Linked DNA regions of Homo sapiens: regions 1, 2, 3, 5, 6 and 7 are each linked to region 4. Evidence: promoter capture Hi-C in human tissues and cell types (Jung and others, 2019). All regions are on one chromosome and are shown on one strand. The core of a region is centred on a gene start or on the middle of the fragment in contact, and the rest is flanking DNA. Distances in the headings are between cores, read along the strand shown.

Region 1 (3,203 bases), core at 507-3,006, 290 kb after region 4:
TGAAATTTAAAATAGTTTTTTTCTAATTCTGTGAAGAATGTCAGTGAATTGTTTGGGAATAGCATTGAATCTATAAATTATTTTGACAGTGTGGCCATTTTCATTATATTGATTCTTCCTATCCATGAGCATGGAATGTTTTTCCATTTGTTTGTGTCCTCTCTTATTTCCTTGAGCAGTGGTTTGTAGCTATCCTTGAAGAGGTCCTTTACATCCCTTGTTAGCTGTATTCCTAGGTATTTTATTCTCTTTGTAGTGATTGTGAATGGGAGTTAATTCATGATTTGGCTTTCTGCTTGCCTATTGTTGGTGTAAAGGAATGCTTGTGATTTTTGCACATTGATTTTATATCCTGAGACTTTGCTGAAGTTGCTTATCAGTTCAAGAAGTTTTTGGGCTGAGATGATGGGGTTTTCTAAATATAAAATCATGTTGTCTTCAAACAGAGACAACTTGACTTCCTCTCTTCCTATTTGAATATGCTTTATTTCTTTATCTTGTCTGATTGCCCTGGCCAGAACTTCCAATACTATGTTGAATAGGAGTGGTGAGAGAGGGCATCCTTGTCCTGTACTGGTTTTTAAAGGGAATGCTTCCAGCTTTTGCCTGTTGAGTATGATATTGGCTGTGGGTTTGTCATAAATAGTTCTTATTATTTTGAGATATGTTCCATCAATACCTAGTTTACTGAGAGTTTTTAACATGAAGCCATGTTGAATTTTATCAAAGGCCTTTTCTGCATCTATTGAGATAATCATGTGGTTTTTGTCTTTGGATCTGTTTATGTGATGGATTATGTTTGTTGATTTGCATATGTTGAACCAGCCTTGCATCCCAGGGATGAAACCGACTTGATCGTGGTGGATAAGTTTTGTGATGTGCTGCTGGATTCAGTTTGCCAGTATTTTATTGAAGATTTTTGCATTGATGTTCATCAGGGATATTTGGCCTGAAGTTTTCTTTTTTTTGTTGTGTCTCTTCCCAGTTTTGGTATCAGGATGATGATGGCTTCATAAAATGAGGCCTCATAAAATGAGTCCCTCCTTTTCAGTTGTTTAGAATAGTTTCAGGAGGAACAGTACCAGCTCCTCTTTGTACTTCTGGTAGAATTCGGCTGTAAATCCGTGTGGTCCTGGACTTTTTTTGGTTGATAGGCTATTAATTACTGCCTCAATTTCAGACTTCTTATCAGTCTATTCAGGGATCTGAGTTCTTCCTGGTTTAGTCTTGGGAGGGTATATGTGTCCAGGAATTTATCCATTTCTTCTAGATTTTCTAGTTTATTTGTGTAGAGGTGTTTATAGTACTCTCTGATGGTAGTTTGTATTTCTGTGGGATCAGTGGTGATATCCCCTTTGTCATTTTTTATTTTGTCTATTTGATTCTTCTCTCTTCATTAGTCTAGCTAGCAGTCTATCTATTTTGTTAATTTTTTCAGAAAACCAGCTCCTGGATTTGTTGATTTTTTTTTTGAGGGTTTTTTGTGTCTCTAGCTCCTGCAGTTCTTCTCTGATCTTAGTTATTTCTTGTCTTCTGCTAGCCTTTTTTTTTTTTTTTTTCGAGACAAAGCTTTGATCTGTCGCCCAAGCTGGAGTGCAGTGGTGCAATCTCAGCTCACTGCAAGCTCCGCCTCCGGGGTTCATGCCGTTCTCCTGCCTCAGCCTCCTGAGTAGCTGGGACTACAGGCGCCCGCCACCACACCTGGCTAATTTTTTGTACTTTTAATAGAGGCGGGGTTTCACCGTGTTAGCCAGGATGGTCTTGATCTCCTGACCTTGTGATCTGCCCGCCTTGGCCTCCCAAAGTGCTGGGATTACAGGCTTGAGCCACCGCGCCCGGCCTTCTGCTAGCTTTTGGATTAGTTTGCTGTTGCCTCTCTAGCTCTTTTAATTGTGATGTTAGGGTGTCGATTTGAGATCTTTCTAGCTTTCTGATGTGGGCATTTAGTGCTGTAAATTTCCCTCTTAATACTGCTTTAGCTATGTCCCAGAGATTCTGGTACGTTGTCTCTTTGTTCTCATTGGTTTCAAAGAACTTCTTGATTCTGCCTTAATTTCATTATTTACCCAGGAGTCATTCAGGAGCAGGTTGTTCAATTTCCATGAAATTGTGTGGTTTTGAGCGAGTTTCTTAATCCTAAGTTCTATTTGATTGTATTGTGGTCTGAGAGACTGTTTGTTATGATTTCAGTTCTTTTGCTTTTGCTGAGAAGTGTTTTGCTTCCAATTAGTGGTTGATTTTAGAATAAGTGCCATGTGGCACTGAGAGGAATGTATATTCTGTTGATTTAGGGTAGAGTTCTGTAGACGTCTACCAGGTCCACTTGATCCAGAGCTAAGTTCAAGTCCCGAATATCCTTGTTAATTTTCTGTCTCATTGATCTGTCTGATACTGACAGTGGGGTGTTAAAGTCTCCCACTATTATTGTGTGGTAGTCTAAGTATCTTTGTAGGTCTCTAAGAACTTGTTTTATGAATTTGGGTGCTCCTGTATTGGATGCATATATATTCAGAATAGTTAGCACTTCCTGTTGAATTGTTCCCTTTGCCATTATGTAATGCCCTTTTTTGTCTTTTTTGATCTTTGTTGGTTTAAAGCCTGTTTTGTCAGAGACTAGGATTGCAACCCCTGCTTTTTTTTTTTTTGCTTTCCATTTGCTTGGTAAATTTTCTTCCATCCCTTTATTTTGAGGCTGTGTGTGTCTTTGCACATAAGATGGGTCTCCTGAATACAGCACACCAATGGGTCTTGACTCCTTACCCAATTGGCCAGTCTGTGTCTTTTAATTGGGGCATTTAGCCCATTTACATTTAAGGTTAATATTGTTATGTGTGAATTTGATCCTGTCATCATGATGCTGTTTGGTTATTTTGCATACTAGTTGATGCAGTTTCTTCATAGTGTCATTTGTCTTTATATTTTGGTGTGTTTTTACAGTGGCTGGTACTGGTTTTTCCTTTCCATATTTAGTGCTTCTTTCAGCAGCTCTTGCAGGGCAGGCCTGGTGGTAATGAAATCCCTCAGCATTTGCTTGTCTGGAAAGGATTTTATTTCTCCTTAGCTTATGAAGCTTAGTTTGGCTGGATATGAAATTCTGGGTTGAGGCTGGGTGCAGTGGCTCATGCCTGTAATCCCAGCACTTTGGGAGGCCAAGGTGGGTGGATCATGTGGTCAGGAGTTCGAGACCAGCCTGGATAACATGG
Region 2 (3,411 bases), core at 112-2,611, 270 kb after region 4:
GTGGTTTCCTGGAACCCGTTACCAGTACTGTTTTTTTTTTTAGCTGCTTATTTCCATTTTCTTTGGGGGATTGAACAGATGTTTGACAGTGGTTTAAAATAATATATAACCACATCTTTTTTTTTTTTGAATGGCTTGACACCTGATAAGAGAGGAACAAAGCCATTGGACAGGTTATGTAGGGAGCCTCATTGATGTTCTGAATATATAAAGGGGCTGAGTTTCATTTTAGACAGGGCATCCTTTGGTGACAGCATTGATTATCCTTTTCATTCAAGGATTATAATTTCAGTGAAACATTTTGAGATGACTGCTAACAAAATTAGGTCGAATCAGGTGTGATTTATGTAATGCACCATTAATGAGGCAATGAGAAAGTCAGCCCTGTCTTTCTGTGCCCTGAAATTCTAAAGAGGTTAATTACAGGAAGGCCTTCAAACCATATGTTCCTTTGTCTTGGAAACAGTCCCATTTTTGCATAATGTGCTTTCTATGTGACTACATCTAGTTATACAGTATTCAGTACCAGCATTTATTACTTGAGTTATTTTGTTTTATATCTGAAATTATATAAAGCTAGCTTTAAAACAATAATAAAATTAGGCCAGGCGCGGTGGCTCACGCCTGTAATCCCAGCACTTTGGGAGGCTGAGGCGGGTGGATCACGAGGTCAGGAGATCGAGACCATCCTGGCCAACATGGTGAAACCCCATCTCTACTAAAAATAAAAAAAAAAATTAGCTGGGCATGGTGGTGCACGCCTGTAGTCCCAGCTACTTAGGAAGCTGAGGCAGGAGAATTGCTTGAACCAGGGAGGCAGAGGTTGCAGTGAGCCGAGATTGTGCCACTGCACTCCAGCCTGGTGACAGAGTGAGACTCTGCCTCCAAAATAATAATAATAATAATAAAATTATAATTTTAAGAGGTGAATCTGATATGCTACACTTCTTGACCTGTGATTAACCCAACAATATTGCTTCAAAAATCTATGTACTGGGCAGAGTCACTACCTGTAGTCTCAGCTACTCAGGAGTTTGAGGTGGGAGAATTACTTGAGCCCAGGAGTTTGAGACCAGTCTGGGCAACATAGTGAGACCCTATCTCTTGAAAAAAAAAATATACATATATATATGTATACACACACAAACGCACACGCACACACACACACACATACATGCTCTGGTCTTTGTGCTGCTCTCTCCCTTGTTCTCTGTGTTCCAGCTATCCTCATCATCTCTCAGCTCCTCTGAGAGCCTGTCAAGCTTTTTTCTCCTTCAGTGACTTTGCTCATGCTGTTCTTTTTCCTAAAATATTTGCCTGTTCCTCTCTCCATCATGGCTAACTACTCCTCTGTTATGGCTTGTTTAATTGTCACTGCCTTGGAATGCCCTTTCTTGACTTGCCATCCTCAAGCAAATCTCTTTTTGCTTCTTTATAAGCTTCTGTTACATGTTGTAATTATAGGATGTATTAGTCTGTCCCACTTGTCCTTCATCTCTTTCCTCCTCTAGAGTGTAAACTCTGAGGATGGGGCAGTGGCTGAGTAATGCATAATTGCATTCTCAGTGCCTAACACAATGTCTGGGGCCTGACACATGGTAGGAACTCATAACAAATATTTGTTGAAAGCCTGAATGAATGAAGGAGACCCTTACATTTTTTTTCATGGTTCCTTCCTAGGAAGCATCCCATGAAAACCAGGCAAAAGCTGCATTCTAATGGTATTCATAAGATCAGACCCACCCAGATTCAAGGGGAGGAGAAATAGTATCTACCTCTTGATGGAGTTGTGGCAAGATCACATTGTGGTAGAGCATGTGGGATGGGAGATTGTCTCAGTCCATTTGTGTTGCTATAAAGGAATACCTAAGACTGTAATTTATAAAGAAAAGGGGCTTCTTTGGCTCATGGTCCTGTAGGCTGTGTGGGAAGCATGGCATCAGCATCTGCTTCTGGTGAGGGCTTCAGGCTGCTTCCACTCATGGCAGAAGGGGAAGGGGAGCCAGTGAAATTACATGGTGAGAGAGGAAGTTGAGGGAGGTGCCAATTTTTTTTGAGACAGTCTCACTCTGTCTCCCAGGCTGGAGTGCAGTGGCGCAATCTTGGCTCACTGCAACCTCTGCCTCCCGGGTTCAAGCAATTCTCCTGCCTCAGCCTCCTGAGTATCTGGGACTACAGGTGCGCACGACCACGCCCAGCTAATTTTTGTATTTTTTAGTAGAGATGGGGTTTCACCATGTTGGCCAGGCTGGTTTCGAACTCCTGACCTCGTGATCCACCCGCCTCAGCCTCCCAAAGTACTGGGATTACAGGTGTGAGCCACTGCACCTGGCCCAAATTCGTTTTAAGAGCCAGCACTGGAGGGAACAAACAGAGCAAGAACTTTTCCCCCACCACAATTCCACGCCCCCTCCCCACATTAATCTATTTATGAGGGATCTGCCTCCATGACCTACATACCTCCCACTAGGCCCCACCTCCAACACTGGGGATCAGATTTCTTTTTAAAAAATATTTTAATATGAAAATATTTTAATTTTTAATTAATTTTTAATTTTTAATGTTTTTTAATATTTTAAAATTTCTTTTATTTCACTTAGGATAGGGGATCAAATTTCAACATGAGGTTTGGAAGGTCAGATTTCCAAACTATAGCAGAGATGTTATTGTGACCATCTTTGGAAAATACAATCTGTTGCAAGAGATTATTCCTAGCTGGGTACTGCATATCTTCCCTGGGAGATTGATTCAGCCTGGTTATAGGCCTATATACTACTCTCTAATATCCCTGGATAGTCACCACTACGGTGTAAAAGTCAGGAGTTCAGAGCTTGGTTCTGTCACTTACTAGTGATAGAAAAAGAAAACCTGTTTAAAAATGTAGTTTCTTCATTCTTTCAGGCTTTCAACAAGTACTAGTATGTGTCAAGACCTGGACACTGTGTTAGACACTGAGAATGCAGTAGTGAACCAGATTGCCTTTGCTCCTGCCTGCAAGGCAGTAAGTGGAATCATTGACAGTCCCCACTCCTTTTTTTTTGAATAGACATTTGCTATTGAGTTGTGACATAACGCTGAAAGGACTGGTTTCAAATCTTCTGCTTCTGTAATTGACCCTTGTATGAATGGCAAATGCTTCCTATTTTATGTTAAAAAGCTACAGTATCTGCCTTCGTGTTAAAAAACACTGAAGGTCATATTGGGTATTTCAAAAAGTAATTGGTATTCCTGAGCCAAGGTCGTATAGTATAAACAAGGTTGTATAGTATAAAAGACACTTCTGAGTTATTGTTTTTCCCTGATCCTCTTAAGAGACAGAAGTATTTATTTCTGCATGTTAGGAGTGTACCTTCCGAAGAACTAATGGACAATCACAATCCACCACGTCATGTATTAACCACCCCCCGCCCC
Region 3 (3,237 bases), core at 275-2,774, 370 kb after region 4:
AAAAGGGATGCTTTCAGCTCTGCTAGGTTTCTCTACACCTTGATATATTCCTTTAAATTAGGGGTCAGCAAACATTCCTGTAAAGGGCCAAATATTTAGGCTTTTAAAAAGGCCATATGCTCTCTGTCAGTGACTACCATTGTAGCAGGAAAGTAGCCTTAGTCAATATGTAAATGAATGGATGTGGATGTGTTACAATATAACTTTGTTTACCAAAACTAGCTTCAATTACAAAAAACATGGCTGAAATTTAATTGTTTTAAATGTTTATAGTATGAATAAAAGATTCTGTGGTAAAATTAATTTGGAAAATACAGTCTTGTACATACTCCCATCTTAGAGATTCACAGTTCACCTCCCCACCTTCTTTAAGAGACAGGGTCCTGCTCTGTCACCCAGGCTGAAGTACAGTGTTGTGATCATGGCTCACAACAGCCTTAGACTCCTGGGCTCAAGCCATCCTCATGCCTCAGCCTCCCAAGTAGCTGGGGACTACACCAGCCACCATGCCTGGCTAAGTTTTTTTCTTTTTTTAGAGATGTAGTCTGTCTGTGTTACCCAGGCTGGTGTTAAACTCCTGGTCTCAAGTGCTTCTCCTGCCTTGGCCTCCCAAAGTGCTGGGATTATAGGTGAGAGCCATCACATCCAGCCCATCCTATTGTTTTAAAAACTTCTCAGGGTCATGGAATAAAAACAAAATCTTAACTGTTTATCTCTATTTTACATATGGGACTATAGAACTCTTTTGTTTCCTTTTCTTTGGCAAAAACAACTATTAAGATCCCTTGGGATCTATAGTACGTTGTCCACATTTGGGAAATGTCTATCTCTGGTTTATCTATAAAACCCCTTTATTTTATAGATAAGTAAATTGTGTCTCCGTACACATCAGATGGTTCCTTCTAGACATCTGCAAAGCTAGTCTCCCTGTCTTCCCCCACAGTATCTGCTTCTCCTCCTATGACCACATTTCATCATTAGCTCCATAATCTAGAAACTTTGAGAAATCTGCTCTAGACTTCTCACTCAGCTCATAGTTGCACTTCCAGTTAGTTTCTACTTCTCTTTAACATGCTTCCCTCTCTTTCATATGTACTTTCCATTCTATCCTCATTGTTACTTATTTCCCAAGCATATTTGATCACAAAACTATGGAAAAAACTATGGATCTGCAGGTGAAAAAATAAATGACGTGAATCCAGGAACAGGCTGACTTTTGTGGCAGCTGTGCAGCAGCTCTCCTATCCTCCTGAGTCATCAGGGGCAGGGGGGTGCTAAGCCAAAGAGGTGTGATGTGGACTGAGAAAGATTTGTGACCATGTGGTAGTTTGCTTTTACTTGGGGTTAAGGTAGAAGAGACCCAGGATCTTTAGAACCATGGAATTTTTGTTTAGGAAGAGATCTTCATTCTTAGCCACCTGATTTTACAAAATAAGAAACTAAGGCCCAAAGACTTGACAATTGTCATGAAAAATTAGGGGGAAAGCCAGGACTGAAGACTAGATGTCTTCTCTTCCAATAAAGCACTCCCTCCACTCTGCCCCTAGTCCCTTATTATATGATAGAAACAGCACCTCGGAGCTGAAAGGGTCCTTGGTGAGCATCTTATAGGTGAAAGAGCTGAAGCCCAGAGAGGTTCAGTGAGGTCTGCTAGACTTACCCAAGATGGAACCACAGGAAAGAAGCCACCTCAGCACCTCCCCAGCAGGGCTTCAAAGCCTAGGTCCTCAGGCACTGTCCCTTCAACTTAGAAGAGTTTAGAGTCTTTAGGAGAAGTTATTAAAAAGACTTGCCTTTTCTGAGCCCAGGATCCCCTTGTGTAAAGTCCAAGGATTGGAGTCCCTTGATGATCACTTGGGTTCCGTAGAACGATTCCATTTTGTGATTCTAAAAGGAGACAGTGTTGTTCCTGAATGACTCATGTTTCAAGTTTTTTTCTGTGAACAAAGGATCTGTCACTCTTTTCCGGAGGATTAAAAGGCAGCACAGTTTATTTACATGGGCAATTGTGAGCTTCTTGGGGCCTGACTTCTCAGCCCCATTCTTAGCTCCAGCTTTTGTCCATCCTGCTGAGGGACAGACATGGCCCAGGTTCCAGGTTGATGTGAATCTTTGTGATCCCTGACTTCAGGTATTTTCAGGCAGAGGTGGCCTTCCCCTAGAGCCCAGGAGAGAAGGAGGAGCCAACTCTGCAGAGCAAAGTTTTTCAGCATCCTAGAAGATGACGATCTCTGAATGGTGTTTTGTATGGTCAGCATCCCAGAAGATGAGGGTCTCCGAATGGTGTTTTGTATGGTCAGCATCCCAGAAGATGAGGGTCTCCGAATGGTGTTTTGTATGGGGTTTTCACCTTCAAACTTGGTGGGGAGGGGAGGGAACATGATGGAGGGAAGTCCAAGAAGAGAGTGAGAGAGAGAGAGATAAGGAGAAAAAGAAATAGAGCAAAAGAGAGAAAGACAGAAACAGCAGCAAAAAGATACCCTGGATTCTGTGTGAGAAGACAGAAAAGCAAGTAGAGTAGCAATAAAGAGCAAGTGAGTTGAGGGTTTCCATCTCTGTGCACCTGCCCATTTCACACAGACAGCTCCAAATCCCAGGCTGTCAGAGCTAAAAGGGACCATGTGGTTCTAGCCTCTTATTTTATAGATGAGAGCCCTGAGACCCAGAGAAAGAAAAGATGCCCAGAATCATCCATGCAGCCCTGTGCACCAGGACTGAGGGAGCTGCCTCTGGGGCCAGGGCTTTCTGGGTGGAGCCCTGTTCTCTGTTTGTTCTCATCTCTGTTTCCAGCCTGGATTCAGCCCATCTTTGTCTGGGGAGTCGTGACTGGGACCTGCTGCCTTCTAGCAATGCTTTTCTGCCAACTAACTGGAAGTCTCTCTTATTGCCTTGGTACAGGATATACTGCGGGGACACCATACAAGGTCCCACCGACCCAGAGTAACACTGCTCCACCCCCCTACTCCCCATCACCCAACCCCTATCAGACGGCCATGTATCCAATCAGAAGTGCCTACCCCCAGCAGAATCTGTATGCCCAGGTAGGTACATGTCAAAGCCACCTCTTCTGCAGGTAGAGGAGCCTTCAGCCTGGGTGCAGTGTGGTGGGGTAGGGTGAGGAAGTGAGGGAAGGAGAGGATGGTTTGTGGCTCTGGCTAGCCGTCCTTGTTGTATCACTGAAGCAATATCCCTGCAGTCTGCTTACTCCCTCACTCCACCTCAGCCCCTAGAGGGGGT
Region 4 (3,429 bases), core at 395-2,894:
TTAACTAACACTTTGAGACAGACTTACATTTGGCAAATAATGACGAGGTTAGCTGACTAAAGCAACTAAGGAGTCGGGAAGAGAACAGTGGCATCAGACGTCGAGAGGCCTTATATACCCATGTCAGATGCTGGCCTTAATGACAGATTTCCATGGGCTCTTTTCCAGGAGTTCCAGACCAGCCTGAGCAATATGGTGAAACATGGAGAACCGAATGGTTGGAAATAGTATTCCTTGAAAAATAATCCCTCCCTTTTAGCCCTTCTTGGAACCAAGGCAAATCAAGGAGTGTAGTCACCAGTGTGACCATCTTTAACAATGGAATTTTGAAACTTTCTGATTTTTTTTTCTATTATCTTGGCACCATATTTGGCCAAATTCTTACAAACTGGCTAAGGTGAACAAGTGAATTGTTTCATAAAGGATGAAGTGAGGCGTGGGCCCTCACACATTCAAGGGCAGCCCCAAGGTAACCACAGGTAGACCCATGAGCTGCAACGACCATGCTGACCTATGAATCATGGAAATATAGTTGCCACAATTAATGCCTAAAACAAAATTTTAATATAAATTGCTAAAATGAGTCATTAATCTAAGCAGCATGATACAATTGAAAGAGCACAAATGAAATCTGTTAAATCTGTTAAGGGAACGGGAGAAAGCCCAGGAACACATTTATAGTGGTTCATACGGTTTTATGACAGTCACTTAAATAAGGTTTTGGAAACGAAAATGTTGTTAATTATTGCAGGGCGCGGTGGCTCATGCCTGTAATCCCGGCACTTTGGGAGGCCGAGGCGGGCAGATCACGTGGTCAGGAATTCGAGACCAGCCTGGCCAACACAGTGAAACCCCGTCTCTACTAAAAATACAAAAATTAGCCCGGCATGGTGTCCCGCGCCTGTAGTCCCAGCTACTGAGGAGGCTGAGGCAGGAGAATCGCTTGAACCCGGAAGGCGAAGGTTGTGGTGAGCCGGGATCGCACCACTGCACTCCAGCCTGGGCAACAGAGCGAAATCCGTCAAAAAAAAAAAAAAAAAAAAAAGAAAGAAAAGAACAAAAACCTAGTTTATTACTGCTGTTTCCTTATTACCAGGTAGCTTCACATCCTCATCAGTTCAGCAAGTCAAAACTGCATTCTTAGAAAAAATTCTGGAAGTTGATAACTGAATGCAAATATAAAATGACCTGCCCAAGGTCACACAGTTAATCGGGACCGTATCCTGGTGTCGTGATTCCCATCGCAGAGCTCTCCCTTTTCCAGAAACTGGGTGGAGAGAGTGGCATGTGGTGTGGGCGTGGCACGGGTCGGCTCGGCAGAGTTCGCCCCGGGTGGAAAGGAATCTGCTCAGCCCCTTCAACGCCAGGCAGCCGCATGTGCTGCTGGGAAGGACCTTGGGCGCCCCAGTGTCTCATCCCCGGATGTCCGCGCGCCGCCACCTCCCCGCTCTGCACCCTCCGCCATCTCCCCTCTCTGCACCGTCCGCCATCTCCCCGCGCCCCGCGTGCGTGGAATCTACGTTACCTTTTCCAAGGTTCCGCTCATCCTTTGCTGCTGCGCGGCCTCTAGCTGTGCAAACCGAAGACCGGACCCTGCAGCCGCGTTCCCAGGGCGTCTGAAAACACTGAAGGAACGGCCTTGACCAGGTGCAGCAGCAATATCCCACCGAGACTCACTCAACTTCCACATCATTTTAGTTCCGGAAGCTTCTGAAATTCAGAGTCTAGAAATTCTCCTGCTTTCCACCCTCACTCAGGTTGTCACATTCACTGCTGTTTCTCCAGAAAGAATTAATTACCATCTCTGTGTTACCCCAGTACTTAGCACACAATTCTAATTTTTCGCTTACAATATTATACACTAATGATTTGTTACCACCTCTTCTCTGTATTTGAAAGTTCTTAAAAGACTGAGATCCTGTCTGATTAATTCCTTTCAGCGTCTAGCACAGATCTGACTTTTTTGTTTGTTTGAGACGGAGTCTCGCTCTGTTGCGCAGGCTGGAGTGTAGTGGCACGATCTCAGCTCACTGCCACCTCCGCCTCTCGGGTTCAAGCAATTCTGTCTCCAAGTAGCTGGGATTACAGGTGCCCGCCACCACGCCCGCCTAATTTTTATATTTTTACTAGAGATGAGGTTTCTCCATGTTTGTCAGGCTGGTCTTGAACTCCCGACCTCAGGTGATCCGCCCGCCTCGGCCTCCTAAAGTGCTGGGATTACAAGCGTGAGCCACCAGGCCCAGCCAATCATCTCTTAAATTGAGTTTAGAAGTCAGATTTCCACGTCCTGTGCTAGATGCTGGAATAAATTAGTCAGGATCTCAGTCCTTGAGGAACTCAATCAAAATAATAGCAAAAAATAATTAGTATCTAGTAACAAATAATTAGTATCTAGTATGGTAAGTGAAATACCAGAATTGTGTGCAAAGTACTGAGGTAACACAGATACGACAATTAATTATGCTTGGAAATATAATGGACCAGGCATACCTCCTCCAGTACAGTGATTGATTATTGCCTAATAAATGCTATTGGGGTTTTAGAAGTGAAATTTTAAATAAGAAAAAAAAAATCAATCAAATGCTAGTATGTGCCAGGTCGGTTCTTTATGGGTGTATGGGTTCATTTAGTCTTTCCAATAACCCTATGAGGCTGAGGATCATTATACCCATTTCACAGATGAGGAACAGAGACAGGAAGAAGGTACCTAGTTAACATAATGTTATATAAGTGGTGAGCTGTTTCATTTCCGTGCCTGTGCTTCATCTATTTTATGGGACTGTGACTATAGGTTTGCAAAAGGGCAGGTTGGCAGCCAGAGAGTTTCTTTCCTTGTCTAGTCCAGGTAAATACAATCTAATAAGATACATGGCCGGGTGCGGTGGCTCATGCCTGTAATCCCAGCACTTTGGGAGGCCAAGGCAGGCGGATCACAAGGTCGGGAGTTTGAGACCAGCCTGACCAAAACTGTGAAACTCCGTCTCTACTAAAAATACAAAAATTAGCTGGGCGTAGTGGTGCATGCCTGTAATCCCAGCTACTCAGGAGCCTGAGGCAGGAGAATTGCCTGAATCCGGGAGGCAGAGCTTGCAGTGAGCCGAGACGGCGCCATTGCACTCCAGCCTGGGCGACAACGAAACTCCATCCCAAAAAAAAAAAAAAAAAAAAGATACAAATCCATCTTTGCATTAATACACTCTCTGGGGTAGGTAAGGTGAAGGGAAAGGGAAAAAGAAGGAAGAAGGAGACGGTTAGTCCTTTGTACGAAGATATAAGGATTCCCAAAACAACTAGAATTTTTTTTTTGGCCGGGCGCAGTGGCTCACGCCTGTAATCCCAGCACTTTGGGAGGCCGAGGCGGGCAGATCACGAGGTCAGGAGATCGAGACCATGCTGGCTAACACGGTGAAACCCCGTCTCCACTAAAAA
Region 5 (3,423 bases), core at 496-2,995, 350 kb after region 4:
GCTGTCCAGGAGGAGAGGAAACAGACATGTTCTGTGAGGGTAGAACTAGGACCAGGAACTAGAGTGCAATGGTGCGATCTCGACTCACTGCAACCTCTGTGTCTTGGGTTCAAGCAGTTCTCCTGCCTCAGCCTCTGCACTCCAGTGGCTGAAAAAATGTTCAGGGTAAGATTCTTAATAAGTCAGATTTTTAGCTCAGAGTGAAGAATTTTCTAACTTCAGAGCTCTCCAGTCGGTGCTTTGACTCACTGAAGAGGTTCTGAGCATACCATCATTAGAAGAGTATGCTGCGGGAGGCTGAGGCAGAAGAATTGCTTGAACCGAGGAGGCAGAGGTTACAGTGAGTTGAGATCGCACCACTGCACTTTAGATTGGGCGATAGAGTGAGACTCTGTCTCAAAAAAAAAAAAAAAAAAAAAGAGTGGCCGGGCGTGGTAGCTCACACCTGTAAATCCCAGCACTTTGGGAGGCCGAGGTGGGTGGATCACGAGGTCAAGAGTTCAATACCAGCTTGGCCAACATGATGAAACCCCATCTCTACTAAGAATACAAAAATTAGCCAGGTGGGGTGGCATGTGCCTGTAATCCCAGCTGCTTGGGAGGCTGAGGCAGGAGAATTGCTTGAACCCAGGAGGCGGAGGTTGCAGTAAGCCGAGATAGCGCCACTGCACTGCAGCCTGGAGACAGAGCAAGACTCCGTCTTGGAAAAAAAAAAAAAGTATGCTGGCAGAGGCTATGCTGCCAGTCATGTGTGCCACTATAAAGGGTATTCCTGTGCTGAGTGACAAGTTGGACTCAATCACCTCTAATACCCCTTCCAACTCTATAATTCAGTGCCTGTGATACTTTTCAATAACACAACCATGACCTTTCCACTGAGTGGAAACAGTAGTTGTTGTTTTATTTCTTTTCTTAAACACAGCCATCTTTGACCAAATTGACTCTCCAGAGTAATTTCCTTTTTTCCTTGGTTTTGAAGATAAAGTAAAAGAATTTTGGCAAAGTAAATGGCAGCCAAATCCAGAGATTTTCTCTGAGTAGACTCATTTTGAGGAGAGGCAGGGAGGTTGGTAGGAATGGGTTCTGTCTCCACTCTCTACTTATTAGCTCTGTAAGAGAAGTCTTAATATCCTCTCTCTAAAATGGAACTAGTAATATATTTTGTTGACTTTGGGTAGAGATTAAATCAGATATAGAAGTGCCTAGCACAGTGGCCAGAACATAATACAGATTCAAAATTACATCCTTCCTCTTGCCCTCTTCTTTATTATCTTGAGAGAATAAAGATTTTTTTTTTGGTCATTGTTTTGGTTTTGATCACCCTAGGGGGTCATTTGCAGGGCAGTTTTCTTTTTAATTGTGAGCTTCAGACCTAAAATGTCTTCATTGCCTAAGTATTCTCCTGCTCACAAAGAAGTAAGCCTCTTTGTCTTTCTGAGCCAGGGAGTTTGTCTTCCTCTGGCCTTTTGATACTCTGCTATTTTAAGCTCCTAAAGGTAAAGTATTTTCAGAAATAGTCCCCTGATTTCTGTTGAAAGTAATTTCTAATTTCCATATTAATCAAAAAATAGCTTTACATTTCTTTAGTCCTAATCCTAGTACCAACAAGAAAAGAGGCTTAGATTGTATTGACATCTATAAAGCAATTAAAATGTACACATCAAAATCCCAGAATACCTGATCACTACTGCAGCCTTTAGGATATAAAGGAAAAAAGCTAACTTGTGTCCATTTATTCTCTTCACTCTTGACCTTCAAAAAATACAAATACAAAAGGGGCAGGCTTGTTTCTAAGGACAAAGTGATAATTATTTGGTAGGTGTGGAAAAGGCATTGCTTTTGGGATTCCCTTCCCAATTCGACCACTGACTTGCTGAATAATCTTAACCAGAAAGTTACTTCACCTCTCAACCTCTATTTGATTAGCTATAAAATGGGAGAAATCACATTAGGATTGATTTGAGGCTCAAATGAAAAGCAAATGCGAAAATATCTTTTGTATGAGAAATGAGTGAAATAGAGACGGTATGTCTTTTCAAGAACTCAGTGTACAGTCATGTGTCACAAGACTGTAGAGATCCTGAGCTCAAGCAATCCTCCTACTTCAGCCTCCCAGAGTGTTGAGATTACAGGTGTGAGCCACCATACCTGACCAGACATAATGTATTAACAGTTATAAAACTCCTGGACTCAGGCAATGCTTGAGATCCTGTAATTAATAAATAAATAAATAAGTAAAGTAAGAAGGGAAGGAAGGAAGGTAAGAAAAGAAGTAAGAAAGGAAGGAAAGAGAGGGAGGGAGGACCAAATAAAGCTCCCTGTAATGCTGCCATTATATAATATCTGCCAAATTCAAGTGAATTAAAAATAATTCCACTTGGAAACATTGAAGGAACATCCTATAATTGCCCCTAAAGTGAAAGACATCTGAAATGACAAAACAGGAGTGTGATTACCTGTGGCTGCACAATTTCTCACATGAAGCTGAGTACAGATTTTGGCTATGAGACTGGATCACCTGGCTTCCCAGATTAGACCCCTGACTTTCTTCTTGAGAAGTAGCACACCTCCAGATTGCTAATTAATCAACAAGTTAGCTACCTCAGTTCTAAAATCAGAAAATGATCAGGGGGTAAAGAGATGAATTTTCTTTGGAATTGGAAAGGATTTAGGGAAAGGCATATTAACAAAGATACATTATTAAAGCTCCAGTATTTACAAATCCCAAAGAAGCTTTTAGGGATTTAGGGATTTAATCTTTGACTTTTAAAACCAGCTTTTCATTGTCAGTCAGAATACCAGTGAGCATTTAACAACTGCAGGAAGCAGTGAGACAGGCACTTATACACTGCTAGAACAAGTACAAATTGATGGTCTTTCTAGAAAACAGTATGGCAAAGTATGTGAAGGTTCTTGGGATGTCACGTCTCTTCAAACCTCCACTATTTCCCTGAATCCCACATCTATTGCCAGGAGCTTGCAGTAGCCTCTCAGCTGATTGCTATGCTTCTCTACCCGCTTATAGTCTGTTTTCAACACATCAATCAGAGTGACCCTTTTCAAACATAAGTCAAAGCATGTTATTCTTCTGCTGAAAACCCTATGAGGTCTTCTCATTTCACTCAGAATAGAAGTCTAAGTCCTCACAGTGGCCTGTAAAGCCCTACATGAACTGGCCAGCCCTTTACCTCTCTGACTTACTCTACTACTACTGCCCCCTCATTTGTTCCATTCCAGCCACACTGGCCTTTTTGCTGTTCCTCCAACATTGTCCCATATGCTGTCACCTTAGGGCCTTTGCACTGACTGTTTTGTCTAAAACACTCCTTCAGCTATCTGCTTAACACTATCATTTCCTTTAAGCCTTTGCAAAAATAATACCTTCTCAATATGTCTTACTTTGATTATCATGTTTAATATTGC
Region 6 (3,552 bases), core at 1,032-3,531, 390 kb before region 4:
GGTGGTAATTGTACAACTGAGTGAATATACCAAAAATCACTGAATTGTACATTTAAAAGAGTGAATTCTATGGCATATAAATTTAACTTTTTAAAAATCTAATGAAAAAATAAAAAAAAAAACAGAAATACTGGGATTTGATTATTTTAGTAACTCAATTTGTGACCTTGAGCAAATCACTTCACTTTGCCCTTTATTTCCCCATCTGTGTGAATAGCTCATTAAAGCCTTCCTAAGAGGCCTGATATCCATAATAAATTTAAGAAGATGGATGAAAGACTATCTAATCAGATATGAATAAACATACAGCTTGTGGGGACAAAAAAGCTGATAACATAAGAAACTGAAAGGAGAGCTTCCACATAAACTATGAACCTTCTTCACAGTTCTCAATGTATAATTATCTACTAGCTATCATTCTTTAAGAGCTTATGTGTCAGTGTCAGGAACTATAAGTGCTTTTTATGTATTATCTTATTCTCACAGCACTCTCAGGTAAGCAGAAGTATTCTCATTTTAGAGATAAGAAAATAGACTATGAGAAGTTAAATGACTCGACCAATGTAAATACCTAAGTTGGGCTTCAAACTTAGATCTTTGTCACTTCAAATATCAAACCCTTCAATGCAAGCTATAGAAAGAACAATGGACTAAAAATACGAAGTCCTGGGTTTGAATGTTGTTCCTGCCACATAATGATTCTGTGATCTTAGGCAAGTCAATGAACATTTCAGTTTTCTCATTTATTAAAAGAAAATATTAACTCCTGCCCTAGTTTACCTCATAGAATATAAAAAGGGACTACTATATACATGTCAGTTAAATCACTACAGAGCTGGGCATGCTAGCATGTATCCTCAGTCCTACCTACTCAAGAGGATGAAGTGGGAAGACTGCTTGAGCCCACGAGTTTGAGGTTGTAATGCACCAAGATTATGCCTGTGAAAAGCCACTGTACTTCAGCCTGGGCAACACAGCAAGACTCTATCTCTTGCAAAAGAAAAAAAAAGGAATTTAAGAGATAATAATAGAAAAGTAGAACTTTTTTTTTTTTGAGATGGAGTTTCGCTCTTGTTGCCCTGGCTGGAGTGCAATGGCGCGATCTCGGCTCACCACAACCTCCGCCTCCCAGGTTCAAGTGATTCTCCTGCCTCAGCCTCCTGAGTAGCTGGGATTACAGGCATGTGCCACCACGCCAGCTAATTTTGTATTTTTAGGAGAGACGGTGTTTTTCTATGTTGGTCAGGCTGGTCTTGAACTCCCGACCTCAGGTGATCCACCCGCCTCGGCCTCCCAAAGTGCTGAGATTACAGGCATGAGCCACCACACCTGGCCAAAAAGTACAACTACTGATAAACCAAAAACACGTTGAATAATGAATGGCTTTAATATTTTATAGTTCCTCTAATAGTAATAGTATATACGAAAGCAGTGACTTTCAAAAGATACTTCTCTCAAGCACACCAGGGGTGCAAAGCAAATAGGGATCTCAAATCTACTTTAGTCAGAGTAGCTCTAAAAGCTTTAATAAAGAAGTTCAAAACCACTGTTTTTGGCAACATCCATTGGCATCTATTAAAAGGAAGAGTGACACCAGGATTTCAGGCCTTACCCAAGAGAAAATATTAGTGTACTGAAAAGTGAATGGATTCTAGAGACTAAACTTAGATTGAATCCTAGCTCTGCTACCTACTAGTTGGGTTACTTTTAATCTCTGGGTCTGAATGTCTTTACCCACAATGCAGGAAAATATTCACCATGCAGGTCTGTGGACACATTAAATAACATAAAGTTACCATTACAATGTCTGGCACACAGTACTTACTTTAAAAATTGCTATTATTAAATTATCCAACAATACTTTGGAATTACTAAATCTAATCTGAAAAACTGAATTATGGAAACTCATGAAAAATCACCAACTCAGAATATGCACCCTGAATATGCAAACATGCCTAAATAATGTTTAGTGAAATTGAAGGCAAGAGATCATGAAAAATAGTTAAGAGTAAGCCACACAAGAGACTATCAAGAGAACAGGACTAACTTGTGAGTAACATAGATAGAGTGGAAGAATGGAAGTTAAGAAAAAAGCAAGTAAGCATAAGGAGACATAAAGAATGCTTTGAAATTGGTGTGAGACTTCATAAATTACGACTGAAGAAAAAGACTGAATCCTAGATTATATGCAAATGAGTAAGATACACAACTCAAAATAAGTATCCCCAGATGACAATTATGACTCCAAAATACACAATGGGTCTCACAGTCAAGAGACCCAAGTCCTAGTCCTTAACGGCCCTACCGCTAAGCTTCTAGGGTACCTTAGGAATATCTGAGTCTCAGTTCCCTCATTTATTAATACATTCCCTTATAGAATACAGAACTCTCTGAATATTGGGTTCCTCAACTACATGAAGTGGTGAAATGAGACCATGTCTATGCTTTCTCTCAGCTTTATGATTCTAAGGAGAAAGAGAATCTATATTATTACTACCATGAGACTTAGATGAAGCCTGCTTATATACCAATAAAGTAGAAAAGAAAGATACGGGAAAATAAGCCATTTGAGGACCACACAAATATTCGCCAATATATGCTCTTCTCTTCACAATACTATCATAAAGAAAGGCCTTTCTAAAGAACTTTCTTTTCCAGGATAAGCAGTTAACCTAAACCAAGAAGACCAAAGCATCTTTTTAAAAAGGTAAGTTGTCCAGGCACAGTAGCTCACTCCTATAATCCCAGTACTTTGGGAAGCCAAGTGGGGCAGATCACTTAAGGCCAGGAGTTTAAGACCAGCCTGGCCAACATGGCGAAATCCCCTCTCTACTAAAAATACAAAAATTAGCCGGGCGTGGTGGTGCATGCCTGTAATCCCAGCTACTTGGGAGGCTGAGGCACAAGAATCACTTGAGCCCGGGAGGTGGAAGTTGCAGTGAGCCGAGATTGTGCCACTGCACTCTAGCCTGGGCAACAGAGTGAGACTCTGTCTCTAAAAAAAAATAAAATGAAAAGTAATAAAAAATAAAAACGATAAATTACTAACAATTATACAATCTTCTAATCAGCAGATTTTCCTTTTTTTTTCTCTCAGTATCTTCATTCAGTTCTTCAATCTTCAGAGAACTTGTTTCTCCAAGATGAGAAGCTGAGCTCTAATTAAGCTTATCTAAGGAATGTATAATTATTAAAAATCTGATTTTCTTATGTATTTGTATAGAAGGGTGCTGGTATACTGAAAAATCAAATTTATTTTAAGAAAGGCAGCAACTAAGATATTTAACAACAATTAATGTTACATTAATATTAAACTCCAGGTTAGTTTTCCCAAATAATGTTATGGGTCAGTTTCCAAATTCTCTTTATTCATGTTATAGTCCAACTTTTCTGTCTTCCAAAGCCAAAACAATCTTCACTTTACCTTCTATGTAGCCTTCTACCTCTATTGTGCGTCTATCTCTCTATCTCCTCCTGCTAAAGTTTTCTCATTTTTCTACTGCGTATCATAGCAGGTCTCCACTCAATTCTTAGTTTCCTTCCCTGGTTTTT
Region 7 (3,228 bases), core at 477-2,976, 470 kb after region 4:
TTACCCTATCAAAGGCCACCTGAGTCTCTGAAACAAACTTTTACTGCACACAACCTGCCATATTTCTTTCCATCTCCTAGCCTCTGCTCATGCTGTGCCCTCTTCATAGAGCCTCTCCCTCTTGCTCAGTGTTCAAGCTCAAGCTTAGGCAGAGCCTCTTCTAGGAAGTCCCTCGGCCAGTTTCCAGGCTAGTCCCTCAACATCCTAAGCCCCTTCGAGTTGGCTTCTAGATCCTACACTCTGTGTGCCTCGGCTCCCAGGAAGCCTGGGGGTGCCTCCACCCTGCTTTGGGGCAGCAATGTGTAGCCTGAAAGATCACAGATGGGAGGGTGGGAGGGAAGCAGGAGGGGTAAGTCCCTACACGGGGAGAGGGGGCTGGGGACAGGATTAGCAGCAGCCTCTCCGCCTCCCAAACCCAGCTGGTCCCAGAAACGTGGGGCTGGAAAATGTCAGACTCAACTCTAGTCCATCCCCCAACCCTTCCTCGCTGGGGAGGACTCATTCCTGGACAGTGTTCCCCCCAAGAGCCCAGGCCCTTAGGAAGGAGTTGGGAGGAGATGTGAGGAATAAACAGAGGAAAGGGGCTGCCCTTCTGCCTGTCCTCCCTCATCTCACCCCCTCCTGCTGGGTGACAAGACATTTAATTATAGATATTTGGTACCGCTCAGAATTCCAAGTGTCCTAATCACCTCCTCCTTTCCCCCCAGAACCAGTTTCCATGGAAAAATCACACAAAGAGCCAAGGAGGGGAAGGAGAGAACCTCCACCCCCGCAGGTTCCCCGCCAAAAGGGGAGAAAGAAGGGTGACTAGAAGAGCTGTTGCCAGACCTTCATCAGCAAGGCAGGGAGCTGGCTGGGTAGGGAGGGGGTCTGAGTGGAGAGGAACAAGGCCAGGGTCCTGGTGCATGGGCCTGGTTCTGCCCGCCCTTGCTGTGTGACCTTAGACCTAGCATTCTCCCTTTCTGGGTCTCAAAGTTCTTCCCATCCCAACCCCAGGCCCTGGTGAATTAAATAACCACTATGAAAGTGTTCAGGCTGTTGGGGATGTGGAGGTGACACTCCCAACTGTCTGCTGACTTGTCCCCGCTACTCAGATGGCAGGCCAATCTCCTTGGGACCCCTCACCTCTAAGACACTGATATGCTAGGATTCAGGGTGAATCCAACAGTCTTCGACTCTAAGTCTGCACTGTAAGATATCCACAGCTTTCACAGTTGAAGAATGAAACAGATAGTGTCTGGCACATAGCAAGCACTTGATAAATGTTCGTCATTGTTACTGCTATTTCAGTATGTTAAAATTTCGTGAGTTCATCTGCCTATGATGCTGAGAGACAAGTCACCCCCTGCTGTGGGCTACAGTTGTGGCATGTGTCAAACGGGTATCAGGGACCTGAGGGCAGAAGGTGGGACTGCAAGACTCTGCACTTTGAGGCTGGGGCGGGGGAAGCTCTCCCTCACAGGAAGAGTTGTTGACCAACCAGGCTACAGTGGGCCTCAGTGGAGGTAACAAGAGTGTGGGAGGGGCGGGGCAGGGAGGCCTGACAGCTCTGCCTCCTCACCTCCCGGCACACAGACAGGCATTCCTGGAATAAATGACCCATGAGCTACTGTTACTCCCTGTTCTCCTGGGTTCATGCAGCTATTGCAGACAGCTGCCTTTCTCTCCCCTCCAGCCACACCGCTGGCTCCTCCCATTTCACTTGACACCCCCTGCAGGCTGACTCCCTCCTTCTGAGCCTCACAGACCAGGCAGTCTAACCTCCCACTGTACAGATGGGAAAACTGAGAGACAAAGATGACTCTGTCCAGGTCTGAGTGAGTCAAAGGCTGAGCCAGGCCTGGCCCCAGGCCTCCCACTTCCCGGCAATGGGGGCAACACCACACAGAGCACGAATGTGGACCTGAGGGTGAAGGACTCCCTACAGCCTGGGGGGCGGGGGGCATCCCCTTAGTCCCCAGGGACTGCCAGAAGCAAAGAATGACAGCTCCTCTCGTCTCTGCTTATTCTGGAGTCCATACCACGCCATCTCCACCCACGGCCCAGGGAGCATGACTGGAGCCTCAGGCTTGAAACAAGGGAACATTGTCTCCTCAACAGAGGCCACCAGGAGGGGGTGGACAGCTGCTCCCCATATTCTGGGAGCCAGAAGGAAGGGGACAGCAGGAGGGGTTCAAGCTAGCAGATGGGAGAACTTCCAGGCTTTATGAGGGTGTGGGAAATTGGAGGATGATGGATGTTCTCAGAGGCTACTGCAGTCCACCAGGTTATACTGAGGCCCCCGAGGACCCAGCCCTGTGTTCACAAGCCAAGCCTGGTGGCTGAGAAGCAGCTGGGCAGTGCAGCCTCCATTTTTCTTCTTTCCTGCTACCAGAGAGGAAATGATCACACCACCCATTCACCACAAGAGACAGCCTGCCAGGCAGAGGCCATTACCCCCATTTTATGGAAGGGGGAAGTGAGGCACAGAGCAGGGATATGATGGATCCTAGGCCACACAGGGATCAGAAGAGCAAGGCTCACACCCTGCTCTTCTAATGACAGACTCACCAGTTACCTCCCCCTAAGGGGACATCAAGCTGGGCCTGGAAAAGTGAGAGGCCTGGAGTGGGCAAAAGCTTGGAGATCAGAGAAGGCCTCTGTTCGTGGCAGGGAGAAGCCCATGTTATGGCAGATCTGTCCCGCCTCAGAGCTCCAGAAAGGGGTGGGGGGTAGAGGAGAATGTGAAGGGAGGTGGGGCAGGAGAAGTTCTGTAAACTCCCACCTCCTCTCTGGGTCTCAAAGCCTTCTCTTAGAAGCACCCCCAACCCACCTTCAGTCTCCCTGAGTCCCTTGGTTTACTCCTGTCCTCTCCCCCATTTGAGCCTTCAAGGCTCCCAGAAAAGATATATGGGAAAGGAGGCTGGGGAGGAGACCCCTGACAAGAACTGGACCTGCTGTCTTCCTCCCCTCCCCCACCTTCAGAACTGGCACTGGAGTTCAGGGGCACCGGAGCTGCCCTCACTGGGACTCAGAAGGAAGGACAGGTTCAAAACGCCCCGCTCCCCACTCCCTGCCTGCTCTCTCTGCAGCCTCCATGAGAAACCCCAGAGCCAGGACCAGGGGTAACTGGAGACAAGGAGAGAGAAACAAAGAGAAAGGGAGTTCAGAGGGGCCATGAGAGTGCTGGGAAAGGGAGTGACTGAATCAGTCCAGGGTTTATAATTTCCAGGCTTCTCACACAGTCAG

The links. The method cuts DNA at HindIII sites, captures the fragments that hold promoters and counts their contacts. A contact is called where the count stands out against the background at its distance.
Region 1: a contact is called between a fragment that was not itself captured here and the fragment with the promoter of MRPL48 in region 4, in 4 of the 25 tissues and cell types used here (bladder, heart left ventricle, mesendoderm cells and 1 more).
Region 2: a contact is called between a fragment that was not itself captured here and the fragment with the promoter of MRPL48 in region 4, in 1 of the 25 tissues and cell types used here (thymus).
Region 3: a contact is called between a fragment that was not itself captured here and the fragment with the promoter of MRPL48 in region 4, in 1 of the 25 tissues and cell types used here (lymphoblastoid cells).
Region 5: a fragment that was not itself captured here is called in contact with the fragment with the promoter of MRPL48 in region 4 in 1 of the 25 tissues and cell types used here (IMR-90 fibroblasts).
Region 6: a fragment that was not itself captured here is called in contact with the fragment with the promoter of MRPL48 in region 4 in 1 of the 25 tissues and cell types used here (dorsolateral prefrontal cortex).
Region 7: a contact is called between a fragment that was not itself captured here and the fragment with the promoter of MRPL48 in region 4, in 2 of the 25 tissues and cell types used here (neural progenitor cells and thymus).

What each region holds. Positions count from the first base shown.
Region 1 is chr11:73,500,458-73,503,660 of GRCh38, reverse strand. All of the region lies in intron 1 of FAM168A (family with sequence similarity 168 member A), which reads left to right. Among named protein-coding and RNA genes, the nearest start is that of FAM168A, 96 kb to the left of the region's middle. The HindIII fragment of the contact is 5,152 bases long and covers 1-3,203 here.
Region 2 is chr11:73,517,539-73,520,949 of GRCh38, reverse strand. All of the region lies in intron 1 of FAM168A (family with sequence similarity 168 member A), which reads left to right. Among named protein-coding and RNA genes, the nearest start is that of FAM168A, 79 kb to the left of the region's middle. The HindIII fragment of the contact is 4,700 bases long and covers 1-3,411 here.
Region 3 is chr11:73,411,198-73,414,434 of GRCh38, reverse strand. FAM168A (family with sequence similarity 168 member A) reads left to right here. Exons shown (of 8, transcript NM_015159.3): 5 at 2,899-3,041. Among named protein-coding and RNA genes, the nearest start is that of RELT, 36 kb to the right of the region's middle. The HindIII fragment of the contact is 7,339 bases long and covers 1-3,237 here.
Region 4 is chr11:73,786,089-73,789,517 of GRCh38, reverse strand. It overlaps MRPL48 (mitochondrial ribosomal protein L48), which reads right to left and starts at 1,644. Exons shown (of 8, transcript NM_016055.6): 1 at 1,526-1,644. The coding sequence starts at 1,546. RefSeq lists enhancers at 1,431-1,510, 1,651-1,710. The HindIII fragment of the contact is 15,089 bases long and covers 1-3,429 here.
Region 5 is chr11:73,434,397-73,437,819 of GRCh38, reverse strand. The region is part of intron 2 of FAM168A (family with sequence similarity 168 member A); the gene reads left to right. Among named protein-coding and RNA genes, the nearest start is that of RELT, 60 kb to the right of the region's middle. The HindIII fragment of the contact is 7,386 bases long and covers 1-3,423 here.
Region 6 is chr11:74,173,004-74,176,555 of GRCh38, reverse strand. All of the region lies in intron 1 of PPME1 (protein phosphatase methylesterase 1), which reads right to left. Among named protein-coding and RNA genes, the nearest start is that of PPME1, 3.5 kb to the right of the region's middle. The HindIII fragment of the contact is 4,752 bases long and covers 1-3,552 here.
Region 7 is chr11:73,313,041-73,316,268 of GRCh38, reverse strand. All of the region lies in intron 1 of ARHGEF17 (Rho guanine nucleotide exchange factor 17), which reads right to left. Among named protein-coding and RNA genes, the nearest start is that of ARHGEF17-AS1, 5.3 kb to the right of the region's middle. RefSeq lists an enhancer at 1,740-1,919. The HindIII fragment of the contact is 4,461 bases long and covers 1-3,228 here.